Regions from separate parts of the Homo sapiens genome. Here regions 1 and 2 are each linked to region 3. The links are contacts of gene promoters, found by promoter capture Hi-C in blood cells and fetal thymus (Javierre and others, 2016). All regions are on one chromosome and are shown on one strand. The core of a region is centred on a gene start or on the middle of the fragment in contact, and the rest is flanking DNA. Distances in the headings are between cores, read along the strand shown.

Region 1 (2,700 bases), core at 3-2,502, 930 kb after region 3:
TACAGGCGGATAGTAGTCTACATCTGGCTAGTTTTTGTAGTTTTAGAAGAGATGGGGTTTCACCATGTTGCCCAGGCTGGTCTCAAACTCCTGAGCTCAAGCAATCCACCCACCTCAGCCTCCGAAAGTCCTGGGATTACAGGCGTGAGCCACCGTGCCTGGCCAGTGGTCACACGTTTTGAATACATCCCTAGTCCTTGTATTGGTTTGATATGGGGAGAAGTTGGGAGTGGGATGGTGGAGAAAACTGAAGGGGTCAACTCGTGGGAGGCAACAATAAAAATATGGAACTTTATAAGTGATGTTCACTTGGTGTCTGAAATAATGAAAGGCGGTCCCTTTTATATAAGGCAAAGAACTAAGCTTTTTTGGGGAGGAAGGGGTGTGTAGTGGAAAAGTTACCCACGCTAAGTGTCAATTTTAACTACAAACCTTTGTTATTCTTTTGGTTACTTCCAGGGATTATCTTGAACACATAACCTCCATTGGCCCCAGGACTACAGGAAGTCCAGAAAATGAAATTCTGACCGTGCACTACCTTTTGGAACAGATTAAACTGATTGAAGTGCAAAGCAACAGCCTTCATAAGATTTCAGTAGATGTACAACGGCCCACAGGCTCTTTTAGCATTGATTTCTTGGGAGGTTTTACAAGCTATTATGACAACATCACCAATGTTGTGGTAAAGCTGGAACCCAGAGATGGAGCCCAGCATGCTGTCTTGGCTAATTGTCATTTTGACTCAGTAGCAAACTCACCAGGTATGTACCTGTTTTTTAGTCATTTGGAACTTGTCACAGCCCAGAAAGTTTATTAACATAACCCCAAGCTACTTGGGCAATTGTGGGGACCATTTTCTTGGGCAAACCTTTTTTCTTTGTGATGGAAAGCAGGATAATTAGGATAGTATCATTTAGTTTAGGATCTAACCATTCTGTCTTCTCTTAAGTGCTTTATTAATATTATTTTTTGGTGTTAATGCCAGCAGCCCAGTGATAAGACTTGGAATGTTTCTGGTAGACTGAAGCAGCTTTCTCAATGTTACCAGACAGTGTGTGTGTCCTAGTGTCCTGGAGTTAGGTTCTGACACTTAGAAAGTGTTTTACTCAGCTGGGTGTTATACTAGGCTTTGGGGATACCACATAAGGACAGTCCCTGCCTTCAAGGGTTACTGCATGGTTTTAGAGCAGGGGTGTCCAATCTTTTGGCTGCCCTGGGCCACATTGGAAGAAGAAGAATTGTCATGGGCCACACATAATATACACTAATGATGGCTGATGAGCTTAAAAAAAAAAACTCATGTTTTAAGAAAGTTTACAAATTTGTATTGGGCTGCATTCAAAGCTGTCCTGGGCTGCGGGTTGGCGGATATCTCTTCTAGCAGATTCTGTTGACCTATAAAGTGAGAATTTTGCTCCACTGAGGGTGCCATACTGTTAAAGTACCTAATTAATGTGTAAATCTTTCTCTGAAAATCATTTGGCAAAATAGAATACTTGCATTTAGGACAGTGCCTGATGCAGTATATATTTGTCAAATGAATGGGAATCCCCTAAATTGAACTTCCATTTATTAAAATATTTATTTTTCAGAAAATTGTATTCAGTGGTTAAAGGGATTGTAAATAGGGATGGAAAATAGCATTTACAATGGCATAGCATTTTAGTGGTAGACAAGACCTGAGATGGCATCTGGCTGAACCCCTCATTTGATACAGGAGTACATTTAGCTAGCTGGTCATCGCTGATCAGAGACAAAACTAGGATAAGATGCTGGATTTCCTGGCCAGTCAGTTCTTTCAGCTACATTTGAAAGGAAAAAGAATATTAGGGTGTAATTAATACTCCCTTTTGCAAATTGCTTAACTTCTTAGTTTCTCATCTGTGTAATGGAGAAAATAATAGTACTTTCCTAATAGTGTTGCTTGGAGGATTAAAAATAAGTAAAACGCTAAAATAGTACCTGGCATGGAAAGTGATTTTTAAAAGTTTTTATTAACTCTTATGTAATATTAACACTTCTGGATTACTCGAACTTATAGCAGGCCAAATTTGAACGTCTAGAGTTATACAAAATGTAAGTAAAATTTATTTGCTTGATAAAATGATTCATATTAGAATATCTTCATTTAGAAAGCTTGACAATTGCGTTTAGAATGTAACTTGCATTTTCAAAAATCAGTATACACACGTTTGTTAAATAAGCCAGAAGTACCTTCGTGTGCTGCTGGGGTAACCAGTGGTTTAGTGTTTTTTTTTTTTTTTTTTTGGCTGGGGGGCCAAGTCTCACTCTGTCACCAGGCTGGCATGCAGTGGCACAATCTTGGCTCACTGCATCCTCTGCCTCCCGGGTTTAAGCGATTCTCCTACTGTGCCACCACACTCGGCTGATTTTTTTTGTATTTTTGGCAGCGACAGGGTTTCACCATGTTGGCCAGGCTGGTCTTGAACTCCTGACCTCAAGTGATCCGCCTACCTCAGTCTCCCAAATTTCTGAGATTATAGGTGTGAGCCACTGTGCCCGGCCACCAGTGGTTTTTTTATGTCCATTTCAAAGCAGTAATAAATGTCACTCTTTGCCCACTATTATGATGCTTAAATTCTGGGAAGCGGCAAATAAACACCATGGTTGCTTAAGAACATTATATAAGAAGGCTGTATATACAAGAATTAGCAGCAAATGTAGGGACAAAAGAAAAAA
Region 2 (2,700 bases), core at 22-2,521, 740 kb after region 3:
CCAATTTAAATTTAACAACTCAATGGTTTTTAGTATAATCACAGAATTGTGCAACCATCACAATTAATTTTAGAACATTTCATCACTCAGAAAGAAACACCCTATTTGATAGCAGTCATTCTCTATCCTCCCCTCCCCCCAACCTCTGGCAACCACTAATTTCTGTTATACAATTTGCCTGTTTGGTACCTTTCATACAAATGGAATCATACAATATGTGGTTGTGACTGGTTTCTTTCACTTGGCATGTTTTCAAGATAGACTTATTGTTTTAAAATTATCAAAGTAACAATATAGTTTAGAAATAAAAGAAAAAAATCACTCATAATCTGACCAGAAGCAGTGGCTCACACCTGTATTCCCAGTACTTCGGGAGGCCGAGGCGGGCAGATCACCTGAGCCCAGGAGTTCGAGACCAGCCTGGGCAACATGGCGAAACCCTGTCTCTATAAAAAACACAATTAGCCGGGCGTGGTGGCGCGCGCCTGTGGTCCCAGCTACTGGGGGAACTGAGGCGGGGAGGATCGCTTGAGCCCAGGAGGTTGAGGCTGCAGTGAGCAGGGATCGCGCCGCTATACTCCAGCCTAGGTGACACAGCCAGACCTTGTATCCAAAAAAAAAAAAAGTCATGATCCCATTCTAATCAATGCTTTTCTTCTCTCGCCTGCAAGTGCACGTTTATCTTATTGAAAAACAAATGGAGGATGCCATTGGCCTCCACACGGCTCTCACCTCTCTCCAAAACCTAGCTCGCAGCCTGCCAGAGCGCAGCTAGAGTTTCTGGGCAGAGGAGGGAGAAGCACCCCGCCCATCCCCGCCGGCGCCTCGCCTACGTCACTGCTTCGAGCCGCAGACCCCCTCCCTCCTTCCCGGTCGCGGTAGCTTTGACAGAGCGCAATGGCGGCAACCGCGTCTGCAGGGGTGCCGGCGACCGTGTCAGAAAAGCAAGAGTTTTACCAGCTTCTGAAGAACCTGATCAATCCAAGCTGTATGGTGCGGAGGCAAGCAGAGGAAATCTATGAAAATATCCCAGGTCTGTGTAAGACTACCTTCCTCTTAGATGCCGTCAGAAATAGAAGAGCAGGTTATGAGGTGAGACAAATGGCTGCCGCACTGCTACGACGGCTTTTGTCCTCTGGGTTTGAGGAGGTTTATCCAAATCTGCCTGCTGATGTTCAGAGAGATGTCAAGATTGAACTGATTCTGGCTGTTAAGTTAGAAACACATGCTAGCATGAGGAAAAAACTTTGTGATATTTTTGCAGTGCTGGCCAGGAATTTGATAGATGAGGATGGCACTAACCACTGGCCGGAAGGTCTGAAGTTTCTTATTGATTCAATCTACTCCAAAAATGTGGTTCTATGGGAAGTTGCACTTCACGTTTTCTGGCACTTTCCTGGGATTTTTGGGACCCAAGAGCGGCATGATTTGGATATCATCAAACGGTTGTTGGACCAGTGTATTCAAGATCAAGAACATCCAGCAATCAGGACATTATCCGCTAGAGCTGCAGCTGCATTTGTACTTGCTAATGAGAATAATATTGCTCTTTTCAAAGACTTTGCAGACTTGCTTCCTGGAATCTTACAGGCTGTGAATGACTCATGCTACCAGGATGATGATTCAGTGCTAGAATCCCTTGTTGAGATTGCAGATACCGTACCTAAGTACTTGGGTCCTTATTTAGAAGATACTCTACAGTTGAGTTTGAAGTTATGTGGAGACTCTAGGCTTAGTAATCTGCAGCGCCAGCTGGCCCTCGAAGTTATAGTGACCTTGTCTGAAACTGCCACTCCGATGTTGAAAAAACATACAAATATTATTGCACAGGCAGTTCCTCATATATTAGCAATGATGGTTGATCTACAAGATGATGAGGACTGGGTAAATGCTGATGAAATGGAAGAAGATGATTTTGACAGCAATGCAGTTGCTGCGGAGAGTGCACTAGACAGACTGGCTTGTGGGCTTGGTGGAAAAGTTGTTTTACCAATGACCAAGGAGCATATCATGCAGATGCTTCAGAGCCCTGACTGGAAGTATCGACATGCTGGATTAATGGCCTTATCTGCCATTGGAGAAGGATGCCATCAACAAATGGAATCAATTCTAGATGAAACAGTTAACTCCGTTTTGCTTTTTCTTCAGGATCCTCATCCAAGGGTGAGGGCTGCAGCCTGTACTACACTTGGACAGATGGCTACAGATTTTGCACCTAATTTCCAAAAGAAATTTCATGAAACAGTGATTGCAGCTCTGTTACGTACCATGGAAAATCAAGGTAATCAGCGTGTGCAATCACATGCAGCTTCTGCTCTTATTATTTTTATTGAAGACTGCCCTAAATCATTGCTAGTTCTATATGTGGATAGTATGGTGAAAAATCTACATTCCGTCTTGGTGATTAAACTTCAAGAGTTGATTCGGAATGGAACTAAGTTGGCTTTGGAACAACTTGTGACAACCATTGCATCAGTTGCAGATACAATAGAAGAAAAATTTGTCCCATATTATGATATATTCATGCCCTCACTAAAGCACATTGTTGAGCTTGCTGTTCAGAAGGAACTCAAGCTTCTGAGAGGAAAAACTATCGAGTGCATTAGCCATATTGGTCTTGCTGTTGGGAAGGAAAAATTTATGCAAGATGCATCAAATGTGATGCAGCTGTTGTTGAAGACACAATCAGACTTAAATAAT
Region 3 (2,789 bases), core at 233-2,732:
CAGCAAGGTAAGAAAGCAAGCGATAATCGCAAAGCAGAGCCGACTGCTTCCTAATAAAAAATGGACCTTTAAAAATTAAAACCACTAGTTTTCAACCACAACACTTCGAAATGAGAATATTAGTCACCGTTGCCATAGAAACAGTAAAGCCAAGCTGCCCGGAATTTAGACATTTTTTTAAATACCGCAAACTGAAATGGGTGAAAATAGGGCAGAGTTTAGTGTGAACCTAAGTGGCCGGAACCTACTAGTAACTTTCACCAGGATAAAAGTGACTCTGCTTTTCTAACCTACATTTCCGAACAGTGCTTTATAAATCACCTCTCGGGGTTAGTTTATCAAGCGCAAAAAAAAGTTTACCTTGTCTCTTCCGGAAGAAGGAACCTGACAAAACCCCTCCCGGTAGTATTGCCCACAATCAGAGCCAGCCAGCGCAGGCTTGCACCGCGCAGCAAAGGGGGAGCCCAGCATCAAGTCCACGCGGAAAGCATCTGAATCCCGGCTGCTGGCTTTACTGGCGGAGCACAGAGGAAAACCCCAAGCTCCTGCCTACAGCCCCGGCCTGTCTGGCTCCCTCCTCCACGTCCCCACTCCACGCCACGTTCTGTGCCTGGCAGTCCACGCGCCCTAATCCAACTCGCATTTATTTAAGCACCCGCCGTCTACACCGCATCATGGTTCCTCCAGGCACTGCAGGAAGAAATGGCCCCATGCCGGGGGAAAGAAACACCAAAAGGACAGCCGCGAGGGCTGAAGACGACCCCGAATGACGGGATGACTGCCTGCAACGGGTGGTCAGGAGAGGAGCTCCCACCCTCACCCCGCGGGTCGTGACACTCCCAGGGAAGGGAGGGCCCCGAGGGGTGCACCAGGCCCGGCCTTCCTGGAGTCCGCCACAGCCGACTGGCGGCGTTAAGAGGTCCGCATCCCAGGACCGCCCGAGCGCTCCTCTGCCCCAAGGAGGCGACCCCGACTCCGGATCCCGGGAAAACGGCGAGCGCGGGTACCGAACCTCGGTAAGGGCCGGAGCGGGCTGTCACCGGCCCCCGCATCCCTCCCCTGCGGCCGCGGCCGGCCGCTCCCTCCCCAGCTTGACAGTCGCTGCAGTCACGGACGGAGCGTCTCTGCCCCAGCGTCGCCGCTCGCCCGGACGCCCGCACCCCCGTGCCCCACGCGGAGGGGGGCAGTGCCGGGAAGACCTCTCCGGACCCTCCCCCCGCCCTGGCCCCCAGACTCCGGAAAAGCGGTTACCTGGCGCGCGGGTTGGGGCGAGAGCACGACTCGGTGGAGGAGGAAGAGAAGACAGTGGCCTCCGGCCCAGGGAGATTTGGGAAATTTGGGAGACTTGTTCCGCACTAGGTGACAGCTGTTCGCTGCGCACGCGCACAGGACCCCGGCCGCCCGATCACTGCGCCGCGCCTCACCCTCCCGTCGAGGGGGTGGGTGGGAGGCAGCGGCGAAGGCGCGCGCACCGCCGGCTCTCCCTGCGCGAGGGCGCGCGCGCCGTCACGTGACCGCTGGGGCCCGCACTTGGTGAGTCACGTGGGCTTACAAACAGCTTAAAGGTGCCCGGCACGCTCTTGCTTTGGGCTCAACTTCCGCGCTGTGGTTAACTTAGGCTTGCTGGCGCGCATCTTCTTGTCCTTTGGACACAGGCATATCCCATTCTTTCCGGAGGGGAAAGATACTCGCGTAGAAGGAGAAAACAGGTGCACAGAACCTTGCCCGGAAGCGCTGGCTGGGGTCCCGCAGGGCTGGACCTGATGTAGTCCACGCGCCACACGTCCTCCTGGGCGCCGACGCGCACCTATGGCGGCCTCCGACGCGCGGACGTCAGCGTGGCGTTACCGGGGTGGAGCCTCGGAATGTACTGGAGAGCCTGGCGAGAAAGTCGGGGCTCGCAGCTCTCCGGCGATGACAGCGCTGTGTTCCCGTTCTCCCTTCACCCGGTGGCCGGGACCACTGAGCCTCCTTCCCACAATGGGAGATCCCGAATAGGCGAAGAGTATCTTCGTGTCCCAACCCTTTAACAACTACCGCGCAGGAGCGTGTCAGCCTCTGGAAGCAAAACTGTCCGGTGTTGAGTCACCTACACCCAGCACGTCCCGCCCCGACCCGCCCAAGTGTGCTCTTAAGATAGGGAGGCACAAAGGTGACCCCAATAGGAATCCTGGGCTGGCGGTCCCTCAGAAACTAGAGTTGATAACAGTTTGGCCAGAACTGAAGTGACTAGAAATGCAGGTGCCTCCAGCGTCTGAGACTAGATAAGTTAACTTCCTACAACTTGTTGCTTTTCCTCTGTAACTCCGCCTTCCGAGGTGTCAGAAGGAACCAACCAGACCTTAAGCCCCTGTACTGCCAAAGACAGATGGTTGAGCATCAGATGTTTTGCAAAGCTGAATGATTTTTTTTTTAAACTTCCTACAGAGCTCCCAGCTGGGTCCCTTGTGGCGTTTTCTCTAACGTCTTAGCTAAGAAAGATTGGGCATATCTTCACACCAGTGAGCAAAGTTGGGCTAATATGCTGAATTTTCTGTTACATTATACTGATAACAGAATTTTAAAAATATATCGACACCGCTTACCACGCGCTTGAACTCGTTTCTCACTGGGGTGAACATTGTGAGGACAGATGGAATGTGATTAATTGAGCTAAGGCTAACGGGATTATTGGGTCACCATATTTCTTTAGTTGTTAAAAACAAAGTTCCGCTACACACACAGACACACTCTTTTTTGAGACGGAGTCTTGCTGTGTCGCCCAGTTTGGAGTGCAATGGCGCTATCTC

What was found. The method cuts DNA at HindIII sites, captures the fragments that hold promoters and counts their contacts. A CHiCAGO score of 5 or more calls a contact.
Region 1: a contact is called between a fragment that was not itself captured here and the fragment with the promoter of KDM4C in region 3, in 1 of 17 cell types (activated CD4 T cells). The highest score is 5.7, in activated CD4 T cells.
Region 2: a contact is called between a fragment that was not itself captured here and the fragment with the promoter of KDM4C in region 3, in 4 of 17 cell types (M2 macrophages, monocytes, naive CD4 T cells and 1 more). The highest score is 5.9, in M2 macrophages.

Annotation. Positions count from the first base shown.
Region 1 is chr9:5,828,788-5,831,487 of GRCh38, reverse strand. ERMP1 (endoplasmic reticulum metallopeptidase 1) reads left to right here. Exons shown (of 15, transcript NM_024896.3): 2 at 460-761. Among named protein-coding and RNA genes, the nearest start is that of ERMP1, 3.0 kb to the left of the region's middle. The HindIII fragment of the contact is 1,773 bases long and covers 366-2,138 here.
Region 2 is chr9:6,013,805-6,016,504 of GRCh38, reverse strand. RANBP6 (RAN binding protein 6) reads left to right here and starts at 881. Exons shown (of 1, transcript NM_012416.4): 1 at 881-2,700. The coding sequence starts at 898. RefSeq lists an enhancer at 1,003-1,062. The HindIII fragment of the contact is 2,610 bases long and covers 1-2,576 here.
Region 3 is chr9:6,756,666-6,759,454 of GRCh38, reverse strand. It overlaps KDM4C (lysine demethylase 4C), which reads right to left and starts at 1,482. Exons shown (of 22, transcript NM_015061.6): 1 at 1,252-1,482. RefSeq lists enhancers at 169-388, 1,589-1,948, 2,680-2,789 and silencers at 1,049-1,218, 1,309-1,548. The HindIII fragment of the contact is 10,552 bases long and covers 1-2,789 here.